Linked DNA regions of Homo sapiens: region 1 is linked to region 2. Evidence: promoter capture Hi-C in 16 types of primary human blood cells and fetal thymus (Javierre and others, 2016). All regions are on one chromosome and are shown on one strand. Each heading gives the region's core, a stretch centred on a gene start or on the middle of the fragment in contact. The rest is flanking DNA. Distances are from core to core; before and after follow the strand shown. Region 1 holds the start of ROBO3 (roundabout guidance receptor 3). Region 2 holds the start of HYLS1 (HYLS1 centriolar and ciliogenesis associated).

Evidence for each region. The method cuts DNA at HindIII sites, captures the fragments that hold promoters and counts their contacts. A CHiCAGO score of 5 or more calls a contact.
Region 1: the fragment with the promoter of ROBO3 here is called in contact with the fragment with the promoter of HYLS1 in region 2 in 2 of 17 cell types (naive CD8 T cells and non-activated CD4 T cells); the score reaches 10.2 in naive CD8 T cells.

Annotation. Positions count from the first base shown.
Region 1 is chr11:124,860,834-124,866,787 of GRCh38, reverse strand. It overlaps ROBO3 (roundabout guidance receptor 3), which reads right to left and starts at 1,356. Exons shown (of 28, transcript NM_022370.4): 1 at 1,051-1,356. The coding sequence starts at 1,210. RefSeq lists enhancers at 364-1,040, 3,380-3,881. The HindIII fragment of the contact is 17,224 bases long and covers 1-5,693 here.
Region 2 is chr11:125,886,129-125,891,713 of GRCh38, reverse strand. It overlaps HYLS1 (HYLS1 centriolar and ciliogenesis associated), which reads right to left and starts at 4,046. Exons shown (of 3, transcript NM_001134793.2): 1 at 3,949-4,046; 2 at 242-291. RefSeq lists silencers at 3,469-3,858, 3,959-4,008, 4,099-4,148 and an enhancer at 4,289-4,338. The HindIII fragment of the contact is 13,277 bases long and covers 1-5,585 here.

The DNA of each region.
Region 1 (5,954 bases), core at 107-2,606, 1.0 Mb after region 2:
TCCTGTAGACACAGCTGCAGGCGCCCTTTCCCTGGAATTTCCCCCTCTACCCTTCCCGGTCTCAGGAGATGCTTCGACTGCAGCCTAATGAATAGCTAATGGCCATGCTAATGAGGCTCTGGGGCTCCTCCCTCAGCACCTGATGTGCCCCACACATGAACACACACATATTGCCAGGGTCTCCTTTCTCTCCACCTTCGAGTCCCCAGCACAGTGCTCGTCACTAGACTCGAGTGGGTCGAGGCAGAGGGATGGGGACCGCGTGCACCTGGAGGGAACCACACGCGAAAGCGCCCGGTAAAGCGGGGGTTCCCGATGCGGCAGGCAGGGGGCGCGCTCCGGCCTCTCCGCAGGCTGGCGGCGGCCGGCTCCCGCAGCTTCCCCGCGGCGCTAGGGGAGAGCGCGCTGTCCCAGTCATTTATTAATCACCGTAATTAGCGGTAACGACCTCGCCGCCAGCTCCGCCCGCCCGCCACAGCTCTGCCGGGGTGGGCCGGCTGAGAGTCCCGCCGCTGAAAGACAAACTTCTAAGTTTCCTTAAAATGATCGCCGCCCCTATCCCCTCCGTAGCAAACACATCCAGCATTTTGGCTTCCTCTGGTCCTAAGTGAGTTCTTGGGAAACTTCGGGGTTCCGAAGACCAGCTGCCTGGGTGGGTCACCGAGTGACCTGGCTTGGCCGAGGCCGGCGGGAGACTGTGCCCCCTCCTCTGCCCTCCCTGCGCTGGGCCCGGGCCTTTCTTAGCTCGGACTTCCCTGCCCGTTACCAGCAACGGTTCTTCTCACCTGGGGTGGGCGTTGTAGGGGAAGGGAAGGAGGTGTAAAAAGACTCAGTAGCCATCTTCTCCCAAGCCCTCGACCTCCCGCGGGTACCCCCACTCATGTGCTCGAAGCTCCAAATTATCCCTTAGACCCCACGACCCAGGGAGGCGCTGGGAGGCGCCACTCAATCCCGGACCTCGGGACAGGAGCGCTTCTCCTTCCCTTCCACGCCGCCCTCTCACCTCATCCCCATCCCAGGATCCCATATCCCCAAGAGGCAGGGTCTCACCGTTGAGAGAGGGATCGCCGGGAGGCAGCAGGGTGTGGTTGAGCGCCGCCAGCGAGGAGTTGAAGCCCAAGAGCAGCTCGCTGGAGTTGGAGATGTCCCCGGCCAGAGAGTCCGCGAACAAGTTCATCTGCAGCAGCGTTTTCAGCAGGTAGCGCAGCATGGCTCGACCCAGCTGGGATCGGGACTGGGGGCTGGGGGCCCAGCCCCTGGGTCTGAGACCCGTGGGCTGGGAGCCGTAAGCCCCTCCACAGCCTCTGCGCGCTGCGGCAGCCACGGTGCCGCTCTCCTGCCGGTGCGCCTGGGTACGGTCGGTGCCTCTTCGTGCCCTCCTCCTTCCCTCGTCCTTCTCTCCACCCCCTAGTGCCGGAGTCCCCTGGGAGCTGGGCAGGCGGAAAGCAGGTGCCACGCCGATCACGGCGTAATTAAGGGATTAATCCGCCTCCCTCCACCCTCCCACCCTTACCTCTACAGTCACTATCCGAGCAGGAGACACGAGTAGCGTAGCGCGCGAGTTGGAGTCCCCGCCCCGCACCCCAAGCCCAGCGTTCCGTTCTGGACGCGGCGAGAGATTTTCCCTGTCTCAAAGCACCCAAGATGAGGGACGAGGCTCTGTCGGACTCTGCCCTTCTGCCCAACTTTAGAACAGGAATCTGTCCTCTCTTTTCCCGAACCTTTTGGAAACTGAGGCAAAGCGCAAGCAATGCTCCTTGCTGCCAAAGTTCTGGTTTCCATTCCCTCCCAAGTCTAGGGGTTTGGCGACGGAAGGGCAGGAGACTGGGGTGGTTTGCAGCAAGAGTTGGGAGTAGGCAGAGAATTCCAAGACAGGTCCACCTCTCTGCCCTCTGGTCCTTTGGTCTGCAGCCAGGAGGCCAGAGGATGGAGCGGCGCGCCCTGACCCGGGAGTCCTGCTCCAAACGCCCTAATCTAGGAGTTCCTGTAGGAGACTGAAAGCCAGGGAAACCCAGGCAACTGTCATTTATTTGAATCCTTTTACATTACCCTGCTTTGACATTTTTTATTAAATTGTTTTACGTTTTTGAGGAGACTGAAATGGAACCAAGGATTCTAGGACAAAAACAAAGATAATATTATTTTTGTAAAGGCATGTGGGATTGCTGCAAAATTAGTGCAAATCTGTTCAAATCGGATAGCAGTCGTCCTTCCTGGGGGGGGCGAAAAGAAAACCATGGGCCCCTACTCCCACCTCCCACTTCCAGTCGCGGTCTGCTTCTGACTTTTCTGGAGTTCTTTCTACCTGAAGACCCACCTCGACAAACTCACTTTCCTAGACAGGAGATGGCTTTGGGGTATCAGGGAAAGAGAGAGGCCGGGGCATTCCTAACCTGAGGTAAGGCCCTGCTGATTGAAGAGTCAGTGCCAGAGTTCTGGCTCAGCCGTCAGGTTCTGGGATGAGACAACTTTCATGGGGCGACTGCTTCTGACCCCAAAGGGGTCGAGATCAGAGGGGTGGGTGCTATACAGTCGCAGACTCTGGAGTAAGCAGAATCAAGAATTGAAATATTTCAGGCAGAGCTTGTTCAAGGGAACCCGAGACATTGTCAAGGGGTGGGGGGCTTGTTCCAAGCCTCCTTCCTCAGTCCAGGCGCCTGGCTGTGAGCCTCCAACTATGGGTGTTTAGGTGCCTTCCAACCCTAGCAGTTCTGGGCGGGACGTAGAAAGGCTGGAAGCACTAGGTGTGGGGGAGGGGGTAGGTGGGAGTGGGGGTGGGGCCGGATGGACCCCCCACCCCACCGCCACGCAGCGCCCTGGGAGCTGTCCTTTTCAGCACCTCATCTGCAGGTGCCTGACTAGGGCCCTGGAGCCCCCAGGGAAGACATAAATCCGAGCAGACCCTGAGGCTGAGGACTGGGGTAGGTGGGAGACGGGCTAGAGACACATCCTTTCAAAAGCAAGAAGATAATAAGAGATTTGACGCCCCTCCCTTCCTCGCTCCAGGGTGGTATTCAGATAAGAGAGAAAGTAAGGGATGTATTTCCCACCCGAAATCTATCCTTCAGGAATGACCAACACAGAAGTGGGTTCTAATTCTACGTTTGCCAAGTACAAGACGTCACCGCTTTGGATCTCAGTTTTCCCATCTGTTAAGGAGGAATTGGAGTGCTTGATCTACTCTGACCTGTGAGATTCGAGGCTCCGGGGCCCTTTGCTCCGCCCCCTGCTGACCGCGGTCACCTGGGTTCCATCACAGCAGAGGCTGAATCGGGATAGAAACCCCACGTCCTGGTACCAGGCCCTACTCTGGGGCGGAGGGGGCCAGAAACCCTCCCACCATGCGGCTCCTGCCCGGTCCTAATGCCCTGATTTGCTCCCGGCTGGCCTCTCCGCAAACACAGGGCCTGCCAGCGTCTAGGGGCTTGTCACCCTGTTAGCGGATTTGTTCCCGGAGACGGCGCAGTTAATTGGCCCTTTATGTGGGGATCAGGGCGTATTTGCTCAGGGTTCCCTGAGCGGAGGCGCGGCTCAACCCGTGAGCAAGGCTGCTTCACAGTCCCTGTCACGTGGGTTTGGAGGCTGGACAAATAGCCGGGCCACTCTACTTTCCAGGAATCTGCTGTCTCTCCTACACTTCACCTCGTCTGGGCTCTCTCTAATTTTCACTCTCCACTTTTTCTTGTTTCTCTCTGCTCTTTCCTTCTTTGTACTTCTCTTTATCTTGATGATACTCTCCTTTTAAACCAAACTCAGATCTAAGCCAAGAGGGCTGAGTTCTCCCAACTGGGGATATCAGAGAATAAATACCTCCCAACCATAACCTAAGTTCCCTCCCTTTTCCTTCCCATTCTCTAGTGTCCTTACGGCCCTGGGCTAGGCAGAGTGGAGCAGAGAGTGGGCAGAGAAGGCCCAGCAGAAGTCACACCTCCCAGCTCTTCTGCAGCCCTCTCCCCACCTTCTCTTCTTTACTGAGGGTCAGACAGGCAGCCTAGAAACTGGCCCTGCCCCTGTCCACATCCAGCTTCTCTCCTGGCTACCCCCATAGGCAGTTCTGAAAGGGGTTTGCCTCCTACTAGTCTCCTCACTGCCTGCTCTGCTCTCTGAAAATTACCAAGACAACTCTTTGTCCTTTTTCTGGAGTGGGTATGCAACTCTTTGCAACTATGTCCATTTCCTAATTTGTCAACTGTAAGTGCCTGTACAGCACCTAAAACACTGAGTAGATGCCCTGCAATTGGAGGAGCCTCAGCCGGGGTGCATTCATTCTGTTGACTTATAAATTTCCACCTTGGGCTGGAGAAAGAGTCAGAGTTGGGTTTAGAGACCCTCTCTTCTACCACCTCAGGAAACTACTTCTTTCCCAGAGTTTTACCAACAATATGTACAGTCCAGACTTTAGAAAGGGTAAGAAAAAGAAACAGAGGTTTTGAAGGAGATTTGGCAGAAAGAAGAGAGAGTAGCAGGAAGCAGGGAGGTTGGGGCGAGTTGAATTTGTAGAGTTAGGAGCTAAGTTTGTTCTGATAAGGTTACAGCATCTGATGGGAAGAAGTGTGTGTGTGTGTGTGTGTTTGCGTGTGTGTGCATGTGTGGGTTCACAGGTAGAGCCCTAGAAAAGAGCCCTGGGCCAGGAGTTGATGAGGTAATATAGAAGAGGAATATTTCTTTCCTATGGTGGTATTTTGGGTGGGTGGATTTGCAGAGGAACATGGGAAATGGGAAGGGCAAGTGATTATGAGTAAGGCAGGAACCCTACACAAGAGTGGTGTTTTGGGAATCATGAGCCTCTAAAGGAACTCTCCATCCCACCCCCCACTGGTGTGTGAGTGTGTGTGTGTGTGTTCACGTGCTAGGGGAGAGAACAGCTACCCCAGGCTAACTTTCTTGGCCTAGTGCCAGCATATCGGCCAGAGAATGTGGCTGGGAATTTTCAGTGGCCAAGCTGGGGCCATATGGGGAGGCTTCTTGGTGGTCTAAAGCCTGCATGCCGGCTGGTAGTGGATGAAGCTGCTGGCATGTAATTGCCCAGGAGTGCAGTCTGAAGACAACCCCCCATTACTACCACTGCCTCCCCCCAATGTACACACACACTGTCCGGTCCATTTGCATCCCCCCAGAGCCTGTAGCCTGCCATCACTCTCTGCCTGGACCCCTTCCCAGGACATTAATACATATTGAGTGTGAGATTGTGTGTGTGTGTGTGTGTGTGTGTGTGTGTGTGTGTTTGCTGGGAGGGGGACAAAGAAATAACATCTGCCCCTTACCCCCACTAGGGTATGCCTGTGAATGGCCCAGCAGGGCTGCTGGCTTCAGAGTGATGATGCCAGGGGGCAGCGACCCAGCCAGCAGGGGCCAGAGAACCAAACAGGAGGGGGAATCAGAGAGCAAAGAGCAGGCACCCAGCTGGAAAGCAGACAGCAGGAGCCTGCCCCCGGCAGGAGCCAGAGTGTGTTGGCTCAACCCCTATAGCTGCTGAGATAATAAGCCAAGGCCCCCTGCATGAAAGTCCCCCTTTCCCCACAGGGTTCCAGTGGAGGAGACTGTGGGGAGACACTTTGCAACACACTCTACCAAGACTGGAAATCTGGAGACAACTGGGCAGAAATGTTCACATCCCAATACAGATAAAACAAAGTCCAGGGAGAAAAAGAGCTTTCTTGGTTCTTTTTATAAAACTAGATACAGAGCAAGCTTCCATAAATATACACTTGGTGACTATACCTGATTAAATAGTTAGTCCTCACAACTACCCCTGCAGAGCCCACTAGCCTTCTCTCTCTCTCCTTTTGCATTACAGCTGCTGTAAGAAAGTACCAAAAACTAGGTGGCCTAAAACAACAGAAATGTATCCTCTCACAGGTTAGAAGCCTGAAATCAAGGTGTCAGCTGGGCCATGCTCTCCCTGAAGGCTCCAGGGAGGGATCTGTTCTTGCCTCCTCCAGCATCTGCTGATT
Region 2 (5,585 bases), core at 2,797-5,296:
GATTTATTCAAAATTGCCCATTGTATGATCCAAGTCTTCTGGATTTGAATCATTATCACTGCTTTTTGGGACCCAGTCTATCAACACTTCATTATGTCCTGAGTATTCTTAAAATATAATTACTTTGGCCTTTACTTTTGATTTAAAGATCCTCTTTTTCATGTAATCAATGATCATGGTGGAATAACTTAAATATGTAAGTGCAAACCAAGGTTTTTTTTTTTTTTTTTCAATTTCTTACCTTATTTCAATGTATCTTGATTGGTATTTACATTCAAGTAAAAAAAAAACCTAGAAAAGAAGAATAGAGTTTAAAAAAATTAACTCTGAAGCAGTGATACATGGAACAAAATGCACTAACCATAAGTCATTGTTAGGATACTGTGTAGAAGCAAAGGAATCAGAAGATCAGGGTCTTAGATCTTAAGTAAAATCCCTTCAAGTCTGGCTAGATTATATTATCCAATCTAGAAGAGTAAGAATTTAGTGACTACATTTTTGGTAGTTGCCATAGAAAAAGTCAAGACAGTCATCACAGGTGGAACAAATGGGAAGCCCCCAAATGCAACTTTGCAAAAGTACTTGCTCTCTTAGACAGCATTTGTACAAATCCGAAGTCTCTGGCCCATGGTAAGGACTAAATAAATGTTGGAATAAAGGAACTATTTAGGTTGTGAAATTTAAATGACACTTTTTATATATTTATACATAAATAACGATTTGTGAGACTCTGGGCTAGGAGGATTTTTGGCAGTAAAGCCAAGAGTTAGTTTTTTTTTTTAATGGCATGTGTCCTACTATACAGTGATTAATGTGTTATTTCCTCTGCATTTCAACTGTGTCACACTCCTATTTTTTTCCTTGAACATATGAAGATGATGTTTGCAAACAATAAATAAAATAGAAACTTTAATAAGGTCCATAGGTAACTGTCAGTTCCTTCTCTTTCTAATATAAAAGATCGAACAATCCTTTCTCTTTAGAGGGAAACTTTCACATAAAAGCTAGAGCAACTTGTATTCTGTAAACACAGACAACATTGACCGAAATACCTAACCATATCTTCTCTTCAAAAGTCTTAGTGACTCAGCATCCTAGGGTTAGCTAGTTACAATCAAAAGGATTTCAAGGGTAGAAGGGGCAAAGACTTCAAAATGAGATAAAGGGACTGGGTCAGTAGACTGCTATAGGGAGGCTATTGCAGAGTTATAACAAATTTCTCCACCTCTGGGGAGGTAAGCAAGCAGCTTAAAGAATCACAGTATTAAAACAAAACAAAACATCCTACCACAAAGGCAAACAATACCATAATGAAGGCAAAAGAGACAACAAACTGGGAGAAATACTTGTAACACGTTTAAAAATCAGTAATTTGAATTCCTCTTAGAAAGCTATTAAAGGGTACACATTATCAGTAAGATAGGGGAGAAAAGACAGATGCCGTACCAAACGAATAATAACTAACAAACAGCTGGGCGCAGTGGCTCATGCCTGTAATTCCAGCACTTTGGAGGCTGAGGTGGGAGGATCGCTTGAGGCTGTGAAGGAGTTCAAGACCAGCCTGTGCAACACAGCAAGACCCCCATCTCTCAAAAAAAAAGAAAAAAGATTAGCTAGGCGTGGTGGCATAAACCTGTAGTCTCAGTACTATGGGGGCTGAAGCAAGAGGACCGCTTGAACCCTGGAGTTTGAGGCTGCACTGAGCTATGATCTGGCCACTGCACTCCAGCCTGGGCACAAAGCCAACGTCTGTTTCTAAACAGCAACAAAAATTAATAAACAGAAAACATGTTCAATTTCAGTAATGTGTATAAAAGCATTAAGACATCATTTCAGATTGATAAGATTTTTTCAGTACCCGGTGCTGGCAAGTGTGTGAAGAAATAAAAACAAGCATCCTTATTATGCCCTGTGTGTTGGGGATAATCCGTTTTTCCAGAGGGCAGTTTGGCATTATTATTATTGTTGTTGTTTTTTGAGACGAGTCTCTCTCTGTCGCCCAGGCTGGAGTTGCGGTGGCCTGATCTCGGCTCACCGCAACCTCTGCCTCTCAGGTTCAAGCGATTCTCCTGCCTCAGCCTCCCGAGTAGCTGGGATCACAGGCACCTGCCACCACGCCCGGCTAATTTTTCTTCTATTTTTAGTAGAGACTTGGTTTCACCATGTTGGCCAGGCTGGTTTCAAACTCCCAATCTCAAGTGATCCGCCCGCCTCCGCCTCCCAAAGTGCTTGGGATTACAGGTGTGAGCCACCGCGCCCGGCCCAGTTTGGCATTTTGAATCAGAATTTAAACTGTACCACAACTTCTAAGTCATAATCCACTTCCAGGAATTTATTCCAAGGACATAAATTGGACAAGAATGCAAACATGTATACATACAAGTGACCACTACCATACCATTTTATGATTATGAAGAGACTGGAAACAAATGTACATTAGTAGGGGACTGGTTAAATAATATATGATACAATACAGCCATAGCAACAAACGCCACGCATCCATTAAAAATGGTAATGCGTATCGACACTGACAGAGAAATGTGTTCCCAATTTATTACTGACTCAATAATGTATAATCTGCTTAACTGACGTTCTTTTAAATTAACATACTTTATTATATTTGTAACATGCAATTATTTAAAACACATTTTATAAGGAAATCACATAAATATAAGGTATATATTATGAATATATCTGAAGTAAACCTAAATGTGAACAGTGTTTGATGGTTATCTGTGACTGATGAAATTTCGAGTATTTTCTTTCTTCTTTACACGTACTAAATGTTGCTCGGATTGCTAAAAACATGTACATACTATGTTTGCATTCTTGTCCGATTTATGTCCTTGGAATAAACTCCTGGAATTGGATTATGACTTAGAAGTTATGGTACTACTTGAATTCTGATTTATGTTTTTCTTTTCTCTTTTTTTTTTTTTTTTTTGAGACAAGAGTCTTGCTCGGTCGCCCAGGCTGGAGTGCAGTGGCGCGATCTCGGCTCACTGCAACCTCTCCCTCCCGGGTTCAAGAGATTCTCCTGTCTCGGCCTCCCGAGGAGCTGGGACTACAGGCGCCCGCCACCAAGCCCGGCCAATTTTTGTATTTTTAGTAGAGACGGGGTTTCACCGTATTGGTCGGGCTGGTCTCGAACTCCTGACCTCACGTGATCCGCCCACCTCGGCCTCCCAAAGTGCTGGGGTAACAGGCGTGAGCCACCGCGCCCGGCCTGAATTCTGATTTATAATGCCAAACTGCCCTCTAGAAAAACAGATTATCCCCAGCACACAGGCCATAAAGGTGCTTGCTTTCATTTCTTCACTCTCTCAGCAGCATGGGGTACTGAAAAATCTTACCAATCTAAAAAGATATCTTAATGTTTTTCTTTGCCTGCTTAGTGAGATTGTATACTGTTTAGAATAAAAAAGATTTATTTCCATTTCGGGGTGGACAAACACCTTGGACGGTTCCATGCTGCAGTCCACAAAAGGTGCAGCTAGAAGGCGACAAGACACGCTCCGCCTTTCAACGGCAAAGCTCGCAGTCGCCCCGCCTGGCCGTGGGCGTGGCTTGGACCCAGGTCGCTAGCGGCCTTCGGGACTCCCCTCCAGCCCTGGGGCCGTCCCCGGCCTCCGCCTGGTCCCAGGGGCGCGGCCCAGGAGCTCAGAAAGGCCACCGGGGCAAAGACCGCGGCGGCGGCCAGCGCACACCGTGACCTCCAGGGGCTGCGGCCCGCCGCGCACATCGCCTGTAGCTCACGCTGCCCCGGCCGCCTCCCTCAGGAACGCAGACGTTGGGGACGGCTCGCCAGGCAGGACCTGGAATCCACGGAGGGAAGCTGCCACTCTGCACCGTCCCGACGGTGGGAAAAGGAGCGAGGGCTCCCGCCGCAGTGGGCCGGCAGCCACCAGGTCCCCGCGTCCCTCCGCTTCCGGCCTTCGCCCGGCTTACCCGCGTCGCGGAAGTCCGCTCTCTGCACCGCGTCCTGCCAGTCGCCAGCAGAGCACCGCAGATTCTGTTAGCTTTCGCGTAACTTGCGCAGGCGCACTGCCGGCCCACGCGCCGAGCCTGCGGTTAACCGCCGACCGCTGAGGTTTAAATCCGGAGAGCGAACCGGCACCCTTGGCCCGGTCCGCCCTCCCTCTTATTGGTCCTGAGGGTAAACGTCCTCCAAGTCTGTATCCTGATTGGCGCACATTTTGTCTGGGCCTTCTCCGCCGGCGGGAGCATGCCCGGGATTTCCAATGTGGCCTTAAAAATATCCGAGCCCGCCTAGCTGAGGCGCGCAGGCAGCAGCCGTTGCTGCGACGCCTCTGGTGTACTAAATCTGGAGGGGAGGTTGGGCCCTCGAAGAGAAGGAGAAGACCCTCAAACCTTGGCTAACGGCGACATAGCTGGCTTTTTGGAGAGGCCGCCTAACGGTCTGCCACTTCATTGGAATCAGCCTCCGCCCTTCTCAACTGGCTGCTGCGGGGCCAGTGGTGCCGGGAGACGAGGGCGGGCGCTCAGGGACGGTTCGAACAGTCTGGGGTGAGTCCGCCTGTGCGCTCTAGACGTTTCCTTGGGGCCTGAGAGAGCGGCTGTATGAAACCCTGGCGCACTGAGCTCTTCCTTTCCTCTGCATGGTGTGCAGGGCCCTGGCGTGACCCGTGGCTGCGTCTCCACAGCTCCTCCCACGTTACTCTAACTGTGCTCCAGCCACCGACTGCCTTGCTCCGACATGCACTTGTTTTCTTTTGGAATGTGCCTGTCTCCTTCACATGGTGTTACTCTCAACTTTTTTTTTTTTTTTTTTTTGAGACGGAGTTTCCCTCTTGTTGCCCAGTTGCCCAGGCTGGAGAGTAGTGGCGCGATCTCAGCTCTCTGTAACCTCTGCCTCCCAGGTTCAAGCGATTCTCCTGCCTCAGCCTCCCGAGCAGCTGGGATTACGGGCGAGCACCACCATGCCCGGCTAATTTTGTATTTTTAGTAGAGATGGGGTTTCACCATGTTAGTCAGGTGATTCTACCCCCTCGGCCTCCCAAAGCTCTGGGATTACAGTTGTGAGCCTCTGTGCCCAGCCACTAATTTTTTTTTTAAACCCGATGTTTTAACTCTTTTTGCATCTGTACCTGTAAAAAAAAAAAAAAAAAAAAAAAAAAAAATCTAGTGCTTGGGGATTGCTGAGGATGAGATCTGTAAAAGCAAGAGGAGAGGCCCTCAGGGTTCAATATCCTAGTCAATACCAAGCAAACCTATCTCAACTGGTCTTGAGTCCTGAGCATTGCATTTTCCACCTTAAACAAATAGGTGCTAGTTGTCAAGTTCATCTTACACCATTTCTTAAATCCAGGATTCAGTGGGAGGGGAGAAATGTTTAATCCTTTTCCTCCAAACACTTCGTATTATCTCTTACTCTCCCTCTTTGCCTCAGGGCCTTTGTGCTACCTCTAAGGCACTTTGAATTTGTGGGAGGAAGAAAATGGAAAGAACAAAGGAGGGAAGATGACAGAAGTAGGTTGTGGAGATTTGAGTGACTGCCCCTACATCTGCAATATCATAACACTCCTTTAGTGCAGCGGTCCCAACCTTTTTGGCACTAGAGACAG